Linked DNA regions of Homo sapiens: region 1 is linked to region 2. The links are contacts of gene promoters, found by promoter capture Hi-C in blood cells and fetal thymus (Javierre and others, 2016). All regions are on one chromosome and are shown on one strand. Each heading gives the region's core, a stretch centred on a gene start or on the middle of the fragment in contact. The rest is flanking DNA. Distances are from core to core; before and after follow the strand shown.

Region 1 (6,500 bases), core at 249-2,748, 110 kb after region 2:
AATCCCAGCTACTTGGGAGGCTGAGGCACAACAATCGCTTCCACCCGGGAGACAAAGGTTGCAGTGGGCTGAGATTGCGCCACTGCACTCCAGCCTGGGCGACAGAGCAAGACTCCGTCTCAAAAACAAACAAAAAAGATACTTTTGCATGAAAGCCAAACATGCAGAAAGCCCCCCAAAAAACAGCCTGGGATGGCCAGGAAAGTGTTCATCACAATGCAAGTGAACTGCCCAAACGCAGGTCTCTGTTTCTGCCTCAGATGCCTGGCTGCTCCCACTGGTTCCCAATTTGACTTCATCTCTGGACTGTGGATTTCTGACTCTGCCTGGGATGGCTTTAGGTCCTATGCTTGAACCCTCAACAGTAGCCCTAAGACAATCCTCTCATTAAAAGAGAATCATAACAGCAATAGAAATCATTTATTGGGGACCTCCTCTGAGCCAGGGATTGTAGTAGGTGCTTTATACATTTAGATTCTCAGATTACGGTCTAAACTTGATGTGCAAGTGACAGCATCTGATACTGACCCGGCACAGCCCTAGTCTCTGACTCTGCCCAGCTCTCTCATTCCAAGAGCTCACCTCAATCACTGTGCAGCCCAAAAATAGAACCAGTTTATCAATCAATCATGAAGTATGTATTAAGCAACAGCCATAGTTTGCTCAGCCTGTACTAGGCAATATGGGAAATACCAAGGAAGTATATGACATGATCCCAGCCTCCAAGGAACTTAAAATATTCTAGGGGCAAAAAGACTAGCACCTATGAAGTCATTAAAGATAAATACAAAACAGTGCAGAGTCAAATTCTCAACTATGCATAGCAGAGTCTCCAACTTCTTAAGGAGATCTTGCCTCAAAGGGTTGTAGCTTCTCGAATACCATTGGTAGAGGAGTAAACTGGTAAAAATCTTTCAGCAGGGCTATTTGGCGGTATCTTTTAACATTTTTGCATTACACAACCACTGACCCAACAATCCTACTTCTATCTAGAAATACTCGCACAAATGTTCAAAGATATATGTTCAAAGATGTTCACTACACACATTGCAATTGTTTGTGAATGTGCATAATTGTGTATGTGTAATTGCAAAAATTAGCAAACAAAAAAGGCCATTAACTATTGGAAATCTACATAGTACAGTACTATGCAACTATTAAAAATAATGGTATATAACATTCATACAGAAAAGAGCAGACCACTGCCTTCCTATATGTGGGAATATTTCAATGGAAATTTTACATTAAAATATTTTCTTGAGGCCGGGCACACTAGCTCACGCCTGTAATCCCAGCACTTTGGGAGGCCGAGGCGCGTGGATTGCTTGGGGCCGGGAGTTTGAGACCAGCCTGGCCAACATGGTGAAACCCCGTCTCTACTAAAAATACAAAAATTAGCCAGGTGTGGTGGTGCGCACCTGTAGTCCCAGCTACTCGGGAGGCTGAGGCAGGGGAATCACTTGAATCTAGGAGGCGGAGGTTGCAGTGAGCCGAGATTGCGCCACTGCACTCCAGCCTGGTGACAGAGTGAGACTCCGTCTCAGAAAAAATAAAAAATAAAAAAAAATTTTTAAAAAAGCAGCTCTGGCTCTCCCTCTCCCTCTCCCTCTCCCCCCTCTCCCTCTCCCTCTCCCCCCTCTCCCTCTCCCTCTCCCCCCTCTCTCTCTCCCTCTCCCTCCTCTCCCTCTCCCTCTCCCCACGGTCTCCCTCTCCCTCTCTTTCCACCGTCTCCCACTGATGCCGAGCCAAAGCTGGACTGTACTGCTGCCATCTCGGCGCACTGCAGCCTCCCTGCCTGATTCTCCTGCCTCAGCCTGCCGAGTGCCTGCGATTGCAGGCGCGCGCCACCACGCCTGACTGGTTTTCGTATTTTTTTGGTGGAGACGGGGTTTCGCTGTGTTGGCCGGGCTGGTCTCCAGCTCCTAACCGCGAGTGATCCGCCAGCCTCGGCCTCCCGAGGTGCTGGGATTGCAGACGGAGTCTGGTTCACTCAGTGCTCAATGGTGCCCAGGCTGGAGTGCAGTGGCATGATCTCGGCTCGCTACAACCTCCACCTCCCAGCCGCCTGCCTTGGCCTCCCAAAGTGCCGAGATTGCAGCCTCTGCCCGGCCGCCACCCCGTCTGGGAAGTGAGGAGCGTCTCTGCCTGGACGCCCATCGTCTGGGACGTGAGGAGCCCCTCTGCCTGGCTACCCAGTCTGGAAAGTGAGGAGCGTCTCTGCCCGGCCGCCATCCCATCCAGGAAGTGAGGAGCGCCTCTCCCCGGCCGCCATCCCATCTAGGAAGTGAGGAGCGTCTCTGCCTGGCTGCCCATCGTCTGAGATGTGGGGAGCGCCTCTGCCCCGCCGCCCCGTCTGGGATGTGAGGAGCGCCTCTACCCAGCCGCAACCCTGTCTGGGAGGTGAGGAGCGTCTCTGCCCAGCCGCCCCGTCTGAGAAGTGAGGAGACCCTCCGCCTGGCAACGGCCCCATATGAGAAGTGAGGAGCCCCTCCGCCCGGCAGCCACCCCATCTGGGAAGTGAGGAGCGTCTCTGCCCGGCAGCCACCCCATCCGGGAGGGAGGTGGGGGTCAGCCCCCGCCAGGCCAGCCGCCCCGTCCGGGAGGGAGGTGGGGAGGGTCAGCCCCCCGCCCGGCCAGCCGCCCCATCCGGGAGGTGAGGGGCGCCTCTGCCCGGCTGCCCCTACTGGGAAGTGAGGAGCCCCTCTGCCCGGCCAGCCGCCCCGTCTGGGAAGGAGGTGGGGGGGTCAGCCCCCCGCCCGGCCAGCCGCCCCATCCGGGAGGGAGGTGGGGGTGTGAGCCCCCCGCCCGGCCAGCAGCCCCGTCCGGGAGGGAGGTGGGGGAGTCAGCCCCCTGCCCGGCCAGCCGCCCCGTCCGGGAGGTGAGGGGCGCCTCTGCCCAGCCGCCCCTACTGGGAAGTGAGCAGCCCCTCTGCCCGGCCAGCCGCCCCGTCCAGGAGGGAGATGGGGGGGTCAGCCCCCCGCCCGGCCAGCCGCCCCGTCCGGGAGGGAGGTGGGGGGTTCAGCCCCCCCGCCCGGCCAGCCGCCCCGTCCGGGAGGGAGGTGGGGGGGTCAGCCCCCCGCCCGGCCAGCCGCCCTGTCCGGGAGGGAGGTGGGGGGTTCAGCCCCCCCGCCCGGCCAGCCGCCCCTTCCGGGAGGGAGGTGGGGGTGTGAGCCCCCCGCCCGGCCAGCCGCCCCGTCCGGGAGGGAGGTGGGGGGGGTCAGCCCCCCACCCGGCCAGCCGCCCCGCCCGGGAGGGAGGTGGGGGGGTCAGCCCCCCACCCGGCCAGCCGCCCGGTCTGGGAGGTGAGGGGCGCCTCTGCCCGGCCGCCCCTACTGGGAAGTGAGGAGCCCCTCTGCCCAGCCACCACCCCGTCTGGGAGGTGTACCCAACAGCTCATTGAGAACGGGCCATGATGACAGTGGCGGTTTTGTGGAATAGAAAGGAGGTAAAGGCGGGGAAAGGATTGAGAAATCGGATGGTTGCCATGTCTGTGTAGAAAGAGGTAGACACGGGAGACTTTTCATTTTGTTCTGTACTAAGAAAAATTCTTCTGCCTTGTGATCCTGTTGATCGGTGACCTTACCCCCAACCCTGTGCTCTCTGAAACATGTGCTGTGTCCACTCAGGGTTAAATGGATTAAGGGTGGTGCAAGATGTGCTTTGTTAAACAGATGCTTGAAGGCAGCATGCTCGTTAAGAGTCATCACCACTCCCTAATCTCAAGTACCCAGGGACACAAACACTGCGGAAGGCCGCAGGGTCCTCTGCATAGGAAAACCAGAGACCTTTGTTCACTTGTTTATCTGCTGACCCTCCCTCCACTATTGTCCTATGACCCTGCCAAATCCCCCTCTGTGAGAAACACCCAAGAATGATCAATAAAAATAAATAAATAAATAAATAAATAAATAAATAAATAAATAAAAGAAAAAAAGAAAAAAAAAAGAAGCTCTGGATGCATATAGGCAGGAGCAGAAAGGCAAGAAGGGGGCCTCAGAGCAAAAGAAGAAGGACAAAGACAAAAAAACAGACTCGGAAGAGCAAGACAAGAGCAGAGATGAGAACAATGATGAAGATGAAGAAAGGCTGGAAGAAGAACAGAACGAAGAGGAAGAAGTAGACAACTGAATAGGGCAGGAGACTGTGGCATCTTGGAAGGTACCACTTGAGATGAGATGTGCTACATGTTTCTGTGAAGCTTTTTCATGCTGGGCAGAGTAGTCTCAGGCAGAAGTGCCTGAAAAGATCAGAATAAAAACTGACTAGAAATACCATCAAAACCAGCACTTCCTAAACTCAAAGCATCTGAGTAGCAGAATCCTGTTTTACTTCATCAACCTCAAGGTTATGACTTTTTGGCAAAAGGGATTCTGAACGGCTAAATTAGTCAGTTTGATCACTTTTGGTTACTTATTTGTATGGTTAGGTGGTTTTTGATCCGCAGTCTTTCCTATTCCCCCAAATAAGTAATAATAACTTCCATGCTGCCTGATGTGTTCCAGATCACAGAGGCAGCCAAAGCTCAGGAAAATTGGGGCTTTGCTTATGGTCAGCCTATGTTTGATTGCACAGTCTTTGACAATAGTAGCTTACTAAGACTGGTCAGAATGAGTAAGCTTTAGGAAACTACTAAAATGCTGTGGGATAATAACAAAATCTGTTCTGTCTCTTCACTTGACAGAAGCGTTAACTGAATTTTGTTTTTCATAGACCCACTTGGCTCAAAACCTTTCTAAATTGCCTGTAGATAATTCGACCTGCTGGGGTGGGGGTAATCTGGTCACAAATGTTCTTAAATCAGCAGTTTAAAATGGTATTCGTCAAGCAAGGGTGCCAGTGTCTTACTTTTACAAAAACAGATGGCATAGTGTCACATGTATCTTACTCTCTGCTACTGTACAGCTTTGGGATTTGTCATCACCTGCTGGAAGGTGTAAAACCCCAGGCTTCCTCTTCTTGAAGTCCATCTCCCAGACTTGTGACTATGGCTTTTCATTCTTCAATTCATGATGAGTTCCAAACTTTATTTCCTCTAGGCACAGCTTCCTCCCTCTGCGCCTCTTACTTCCTTTCTCTCTTCTGCCTCTCCTCTGCTCCCCATCCCACTTTCTGCTCTCCCTCCTTTTCTCACTTATGTCAGTCTAGGAGCTTTGATTACCTGCTTAGTACTCCAAAGTGTGAGTTCCTCTGATCTCTTGATTCCTTGGTTCTAATCTCATCATGCTTTTTGTTGTTGTTGTTGTTGCTGTTTGTTTGTTTGTTTGTTTGTTTTTGAGATGGAGTCTTGCTCTGTAGCCAGGCTGGAGTGCAGTGGCATGATCTCAGCTCACTGTAACCTCCACCTCCTGGGTTCAAGTGATTCCCCTACCTCAGCCTCTCAAGTAGCTGGGACTACAGGTGCGCACCAGCATGTCCAGCTAATTTTTTGCATTTTAGTAGAGACAGGGTTTCACCATGTTGGCCAGGATGGTCTCAATCTCCTGACCTCATGATCCACCCGCCTCGGCCTCCCAAAGTGCTGGGATTACAGGCGTAAGCCACCATGCCCGGCCTTGTTTATTTATTTATTTATTTAATTATACTTTAAGTTCTAGGGTACATGTGCACAACGTGCAGGTTTGTTACAAATGTATACATGTGCCATGTTGGTGTGCTGCACCCATTAACTTGTCATTTATATTAGGTATATCTCTTAATGCCATCCCTCCCCCCTCCCCCCACCCCACGACAGGCCCTGGTGTGTGATGTTCCCCTTCCTGTGTCCAAGTGTTCTCATTGGTCAGTTCCCACCTATGAGGGAGAACATGCAGTGTTTCATTTTCTGTCCTTGCGATAGTTTGCTGAGAATGAAGGTTTCCAGCTTCATCCATGTCCCTACAACGGACATGAACTCATCCTTTTTATGGCTGCATAGTATTCCATGGTGTATATGTGCCACATTTTCTTAATCCAGTCTATCATTGATGGACATTTGGGTTGGTTCCAAGTCTTTGCTATTGTGAATAGTGCTGCAATAAACATACGTGTGCATGGGTCTTTATAGCAGCATGATTTATAATCCTTTGGGTATATACCCAGTAATGGGATTGCTGGGTCAAATGGTATTTTAGTTCTAGATCCTTGAGGAATCACCACACTGTCTTCCACAATGGTTGAACTAGTTTACACTGCCACCAACAGTGTAAAAGTGTTCCTATTTCTCCACATCCTCTCCAGCACCTGTTGTTTCCTGACTTTTTAATGATCGCCATTCTAACTGGTGTGAGATGGTATCTCATTGTGGTTTTGATTTGCATTTCTCTGATGCCCAGTGATGATGACCTTTTTTTCATGTGTCTTTTGGCTGCATAAATGTCTTCTTTTGAGAAGAGTCTGTTCGCGTCCTTCGCCTACTTTTTGATGGGGTTGTTTGATTTTTTTTCTTGTAAATTTGTTTAAGTTCTTTGTAGATTCTGGATATTAGCCCTTTGTCAGATGGGTAGATTGCAAAAATTTTCTCC
Region 2 (6,148 bases), core at 748-3,247:
AATCCTCATAACAACCCTAAGAAGCTAGTACTATTATTATGCCAACTCACAGGTGAGGACACTGGGGACTCAGGGAGATAAAGTCACTTGCCCAAGATCACACAGCTAGTGGGTGCCAGAGCTGGGATTGAAACTCAGGCTGATTGGCTCCCAAGTCAGTGTTTCAAGGCTCAGTTCACTGACAGAAAGACAGGACCATGTTTGTCCTCAAAGGCTATCTTCAGGGGTCTTCCCCTGCAAAATCCCATCAGCTCTACCTGCTTGCTTGCCCTTCAGGATGGCTACTGCAGCAAACAGAGGAGGCAGGAGTCTTTGAGGGGGCATTTTCCAGTGCTCTGGTCTCTGGGAATAATTTCATTACCAGTCCTGGAAGGGGTGGGAGAGAGGAGCCTGGGGAAAAGGCTGCGGGAGCTTCAGCAGTTATTGAATGACAGCATTCTCATGTTCTCCTTGTCCCTGGTCTGTCCTCTGAGGCTGTGGGCTCCTGCCCTCTGCTTTTATTCCTGAGAATGAAGTTCACTGGGCCACCTCACTCATTTTGACTCTGCCCCTTCAGAGACTCCCATGAAGGTCCGTTTTCCCTCTTCAAAATGGCCTATTTTGTCATTCTTGAATGGATGGTTGAAAGTTGCTTTACACTTGATGTGGACATAAGCAGACTGTAAATCCATTAAAAATAGAAACAAAAGGAATGGTGGCCAGGCATGGTGACACGCACCTGTGGTCTCAGCTACTCAGAAGGCTGAGGCTGGAGAATCACTTGAGCCCGGGAGGCTGAGGTTGCAGTGAACCGAGAACATGCCACTGCACTCCACCCTGGGCAACAGAATAAGACCCTGTTTCAAAAATAAAAATAGAAACAAAAGGAATGGGCAGTTTGCCTCTGGGGCCCTCCAGGCTAGGTGAGCATCCATCCCCATTGGGTCTGTTTGTCTCTCTAAAGCATTCCTCTCTGGGAAATCACCTTCCTCGAACCCAAAGAGCAAGGGTTCTGTAGAGCATTTACTAGGAGCTGCCTTGAAGCTGCCCTCTGATTCAGCTGGGCGTGAAGACAAGGCAGGCCTCAGCTTCTCCATTTCCCTCATTGGGAGTTGTGTTGTTTACGAGTGACTCACACTTCAGGGTAACCAAATCCCTGTTCTAGAAGCTACAGCAGAAACAGCATTTCCAGTTCACCAAATTAGTCTTCTCAGAGCGCCCAAACTCCCCTTTCTGTGTCTTCTTCCCTATTCAGTGGCATCCCCCAAACCCTCCAGATAGGGGCATCTTTGGGCTTTCATTTCCTCCCAGGTGTGAGTGGCTCTAACAGCCTCGGTTCCCCAGAGTGCAGGTTCAGAAAATGCAGGGGAATGGGACTCCCCAGATCCCAAGGGAAGAGCTGGCATCACTTCTTCAGAGTGGGCACTCCTGGGGGGACTCATCCCAGCTCAAGAAAGTAACTCTCCAGTCACAACCAACTTTCCCAAGGGGTACAGTGGGACTTGCCAAGCACTACAAGAAGAGAGGACACTGGCTTTTCCAGTCAGCTTGGAGGAAGAGAGGGAGGAAAAAAGGAGGGGGAGGAAGAGCAAAAAGGAGGAGGAGGAGGAAATGGACAAGGAGGAAAAAAAAAAAAAGGAGGAGGATGAGGAGGGAAAAGGAGGAAGAAGAAGAGGAAGTGGAGGAGCCCAGAAAAGGAGGGGAAGGAGGAAAAAGGAGGAGGAGAAGGAAAACGAGGAGGAAGAAGAGGTGGGGAGGAAAAGGAGCAGCAGCAGGAGGCAAATCTCCATCCCCACAGCAAAAGCAGTGCTGGAGCCAGAGCCCAGAGTGTGGGAGCTAATGGGAATCAGCTTGCTGGAGGGAAGGGGACCGAATTAAGGAATGGCTGGGGCTCTGCCGCTGAGAGGGGGCTGGGAAAAGCAGGCTGATTGAGACCAGCTGTTGTGCCTCTGTCTCTGAGATCTTTGGACTCTGCCCAGGATAGCCTCACACCCTATCCTACACGACTAGGAACTTGCACAGTCCGCCTCGGGCAGCCCAAAGCTCCTCTGCCCACCCTGGCTCCCAGAGCCCTCCAAAACAAAAGACCAGAGAAGCACTCTCCACCCAGCAGCCAGACGCCTCCTTCTTGACGCCAGCCCCCACCCTCTGTCTGCTCGAGCCCAGGAAAGGCCTGAAGGAAGAGGCCGGGGAAAGAGCCCTCCCTCTCTCCCTTGTCCCTCCATCCACCCAGCGCCGGCATCTGGAGACCCTATGGCCCGGGCTCACTGGGGCTGCTGCCCCTGGCTGGTCCTCCTCTGTGGTATGTGCATCCTAGCTTCCACTGGAAGGCAGCTCTGACCTCTCCCCTCTGAGCTCAGAAAGGGTTGGAGTGAGGGTTGGGGCCCGAGTCTCTTTTTCTGTTGCTTCCTCTCTCTGACTTGAGGAAGAGACACCTCAGGGCCAGTGTTGGGGGCCCTCATAACTTGGATCGAGTCTGGTTTGGCACCTTTCCATTCCCCCCGTTATAGAAAAAAAATATTCTGACACTCGTTAAAACGGTAAGGAAAACTTAATTTAAGACTACCGCATTGCAATAGAGGAGAGAAATGGGGCTCAACTCTGATTACAGAAAAGACTTCCAGGGATCTGTAGCCAAGGAGCAGAGTGAGGGGGTCAGTGGATGGAAAAGTATTAAGAGGAGATAGCAAGGGTAGGGGGATTCTTGCTAAACCGACTGAACAGCATTCTTGCTGACGGCAGGCCAGAGTGATCAGATATCAAGGGTGTCTAAACTGACTTAGCAAGATTCTTGCTAAGACTGGGTGATGCAAGCCTGGCAAGGGCAGGACAGACACAGAAGGCCAAGGTCAAGGCCAAGTGGAGAAGAGGCTTTGGGGGAGCCTAACTAAACTTTGGTCAGGAAGAGAGTCTTTCCTCTTTGTCATTCCTGCGGCACCCTCTCTGTCCTCAACTAGGTGCCCAGCCCAGCGCTCCCACCCTAGCCTTCCTTTCTTTGTTGTCTGTCAGCAGGGCCTGATCAGTCACTCAATGTCCAGTTCCTGAGCACCTACCCAGTGCCAGGCCTTGTGCCAGGGACCACAGAGTCATTCAGCTGCAGAGCCTGCTCTTGGGAGCCACAGCCCTGGCCTCAGAGAACAGCATATTCTGGTGTCCAGAGAGACATAAGTTGGCTGTGTCCTCATTCTTATGTTAGCATATCAGTGCCAACATTTTGCCAGGGATCTGTTTCTACAGAAATGGGTGTTTGTTTTCTTAAATGAACAGTATGGGTCGCATCTGATCCTTGAGTTTATGAGACCAAGATAAAATCACACAGGACGTTCATGGTGTTGAACCCCAGCCACCCTCCTTGCATCTGTAGCTCAGCCCACTCGAAAGTGTGGCTGGGCGTGGTGGCTCATGCCTGTAATCCCAGCTCTTTGGGAGGCCATGGCAGGCGGATCACTTGAGGTCAGGAGTTCGAGACCAGCCTGGCCAACATGGTGAAACACTGTCTCTATTAAAATTACAAAAATTAGCCAGGCATGGTGGCGCACGCTTGTAATCCCAGTTCCTCAGGGGGGGCTGAGGCAGGAGAATCGCTTGAACTCAGGAGGCAGAGATTGCAGTGAGCCAAGATTGTGCCACTGCACTCCAGCCTGGGCAAAAGAAGGAGACTCCATCTCAAAAAAAAAAAAAATGCGGGCGCGGGGGGCGTTGGGCGCAGTGGCTCACGCCTGTGATCCCAACACTTTGGGAGGCCGGGGCGGGTGGATCACCTGAGGTCAGGAGTTCGAGACCAGCCTGGCCAATATAGTGAAACCCCCATCTCTACTAAAAATACAAAAATTAGCTGGGTGTGGTGGGTGCATGCCTGTAGTCCCAGCTACTTGGGAGGCTGAGGCAGGAGAATCGCTTGAACCCGGGAGGCGGAGGTTGCAGTGAGCTGAGATCGCCCCACTGCACTCCAGCCTGGGTGACAGAGAGACTCTGTCTCAAAAAAAAAAAAAAGGAGGGGGGGCGGGGGAGTGTAATGTCTCCCCACACTCAGGGCCCCATTACCATCTAGGGAAATCCCTCCCTAAAAGACAGGGGGGTTAGAGGCAAGGACTATCAGAGACCGCTTTGTCTAATTCAAGCCCCTCCTTTCCAGAGGTCCAGAGCCTGGAGAACTTAGTCCAGTGCCTGGCACACAGTAGGCGCTTAGGAGATGGTTGCTCAATGAATATTGGGGGGGGGTCACTCTCGAGTCACTCTAAATTGGGGGCAGAGCCCAAACTAGAAACTAGATCTCCATATATTCTGTCCCTTCTGTGGCATCACCTTTTTCAGGCCCACCTCTCATACTTGGCAGAGTGGGAGGACTGAAAGTGCGCTCACCTCTTTTGTATTAAGATGGCCTGGGTTCAAATCCCTGTTCTACCACTGACTCCTGGTGGCACAAGTTAGACAAGTTACCAAATCTATCTGGGCCTTGACTTCCTCCTCTGCAGAAAGTGAACAATAATTTCCACCTCATAGTGATGTCACAAATATCAAATGAGATACTGTAGATGAATTGCTGCGTTCAGTATCTGGCACATAATAGGGTGTCTTTAAATACTAATTAATCCATCTTTCCCCACCATGGCAGACTAGGATTTCTGTCTAATATATTGAAAATGAGCCTGGAATGATAGGCAAAGATTTGGACTGTAAGAAACAGTGCAAGCAGGCCTTGAATTGAAGTCAACCCAATGTATCATACAATTAGATTTATAAAAGGCTAAAATGAAGGTGGGGTGATTATTTAGCGTGATCTTCTAGAGCATTTCAAAGAAAATTTGATAACAAAAATTTAATTTACACACAACTTTTCTACTTCACTAAACCCTGAAAAGACCCAATTAGATTAGAAGAAAAATTGATTTAATGAGCACTAAAACCCATCCAAAAGTGGCAATCACTTGTCTATGAAACAGATTTCTTTGATTGTGACCCAGGGTGCTATCCAGTTCAGCCTGATTTCCTATGAAATGTGATTATTTTTATCCTCAAGTAGAGCTGGCCAGCTTCGTGCGTTTCAAAGGATGGAGGCCCCGTGGGGCGGGCTGAGAGGATACTCCTTCCCTCTCTAGGAACTAGCTGGTCCCCAAATGACCCTGGATTTTTCTCCCGGCTTCTAGCTTGTGCCTGGGGCCACACAAAGCCAGTGGACCTTGGAGGGCAGGATGTGAGAAACTGTTCCACCAACCCCCCTGTGAGTGCCCCCTGCCCCCCGCGCACGGCCCCCCTGGCCCCACGCACCCCCCCACCCCTGCCCCACGCACCCCTGCACCGCAGCACCCCCGCCCTGCTCTATCATCTTCTCTATCCCTCATTGGGTCAGTTGGTAGCCCCTCCTCCTACCAGGCTTTCTCCTGATTTCCGGACTCTTGGGCCCCTCCCCCCTCCACTCCCTCCCCTCCACATCAGTGCCCTCCCCTCCCTCCCATTCATTCCCCCAGCAGGTTATCTGCTTCCGTCCTGATCTGGGCCTGGGAAACCCCTCTAGGAGGAGGGAGGAGGGCAGGAGGCCCCTAACTGGCCTTTGGCTGAGGCCAGGCAGAGGAAAGAAAAGACAAATTCTAGAGTGACAGCAAAAAGAGAAGCACAGAAGGGAAGAGGGAGGAAGACAGAGGTTAGAAGAGCCAACGGAGGCCGAGCACGGTGGCTGACGCCTGTAATCCCAGCACTTTGGGAGACCGAGCCAGGTGGATCACCTGAGGTCAGGAGTTCGAGACCAGCCTGGGCAACATGGTGAAACCCCGTCTCTACTAAAAATAAAAAAATTAGCCAGGCATGGTGGCGGGTGCCTGTAATCCCCGCTACTCAGGAGGCTAAGGCAGAAGAATTGCTTGAACCCAGGAAGCAGAGGTTGCAGTGAGCCAAGATTGTGCCACTGCACTCCAGTCTGGGCGACAGAGCAAGACTCTGTCTCAAAAACAAAACAAAACAAAACCAAAACCAAAGAAGAGCCAACGGAAGGGCAAGAGAGGGAGGCCTAGGGTGTGCAGACGAGGAAAAGGCCCAGCAGAAGGGGCTTGGGTAGTCAGCTTCCTAGCTGGAGACCAGAGTGATTCTTTCTACAATCAGAGTAGGGCTAAGGGGTAGGCATGCCAGCAGCACTGTAAGCCATGGGAAAAACGCAGTACATCTGCTAGCAATA

What was found. Contacts are between HindIII fragments. The CHiCAGO score rates a contact against its expected background, and 5 or more counts as called.
Region 1: a contact is called between a fragment that was not itself captured here and the fragment with the promoter of XPNPEP2 in region 2, in 6 of 17 cell types (activated CD4 T cells, neutrophils, total B cells and 3 more). The highest score is 9.3, in activated CD4 T cells.

Annotation. Positions count from the first base shown.
Region 1 is chrX:129,848,088-129,854,587 of GRCh38, forward strand. No RefSeq gene overlaps it. Among named protein-coding and RNA genes, the nearest start is that of ZDHHC9, 7.5 kb to the left of the region's middle. RefSeq lists enhancers at 1,420-2,235, 2,236-3,049. The HindIII fragment of the contact is 5,396 bases long and covers 1-4,196 here.
Region 2 is chrX:129,736,982-129,743,129 of GRCh38, forward strand. It overlaps XPNPEP2 (X-prolyl aminopeptidase 2), which reads left to right and starts at 1,998. Exons shown (of 21, transcript NM_003399.6): 1 at 1,998-2,281; 2 at 5,127-5,200. The coding sequence starts at 2,233. RefSeq lists an enhancer at 1,228-1,277. The HindIII fragment of the contact is 11,300 bases long and covers 1-6,148 here.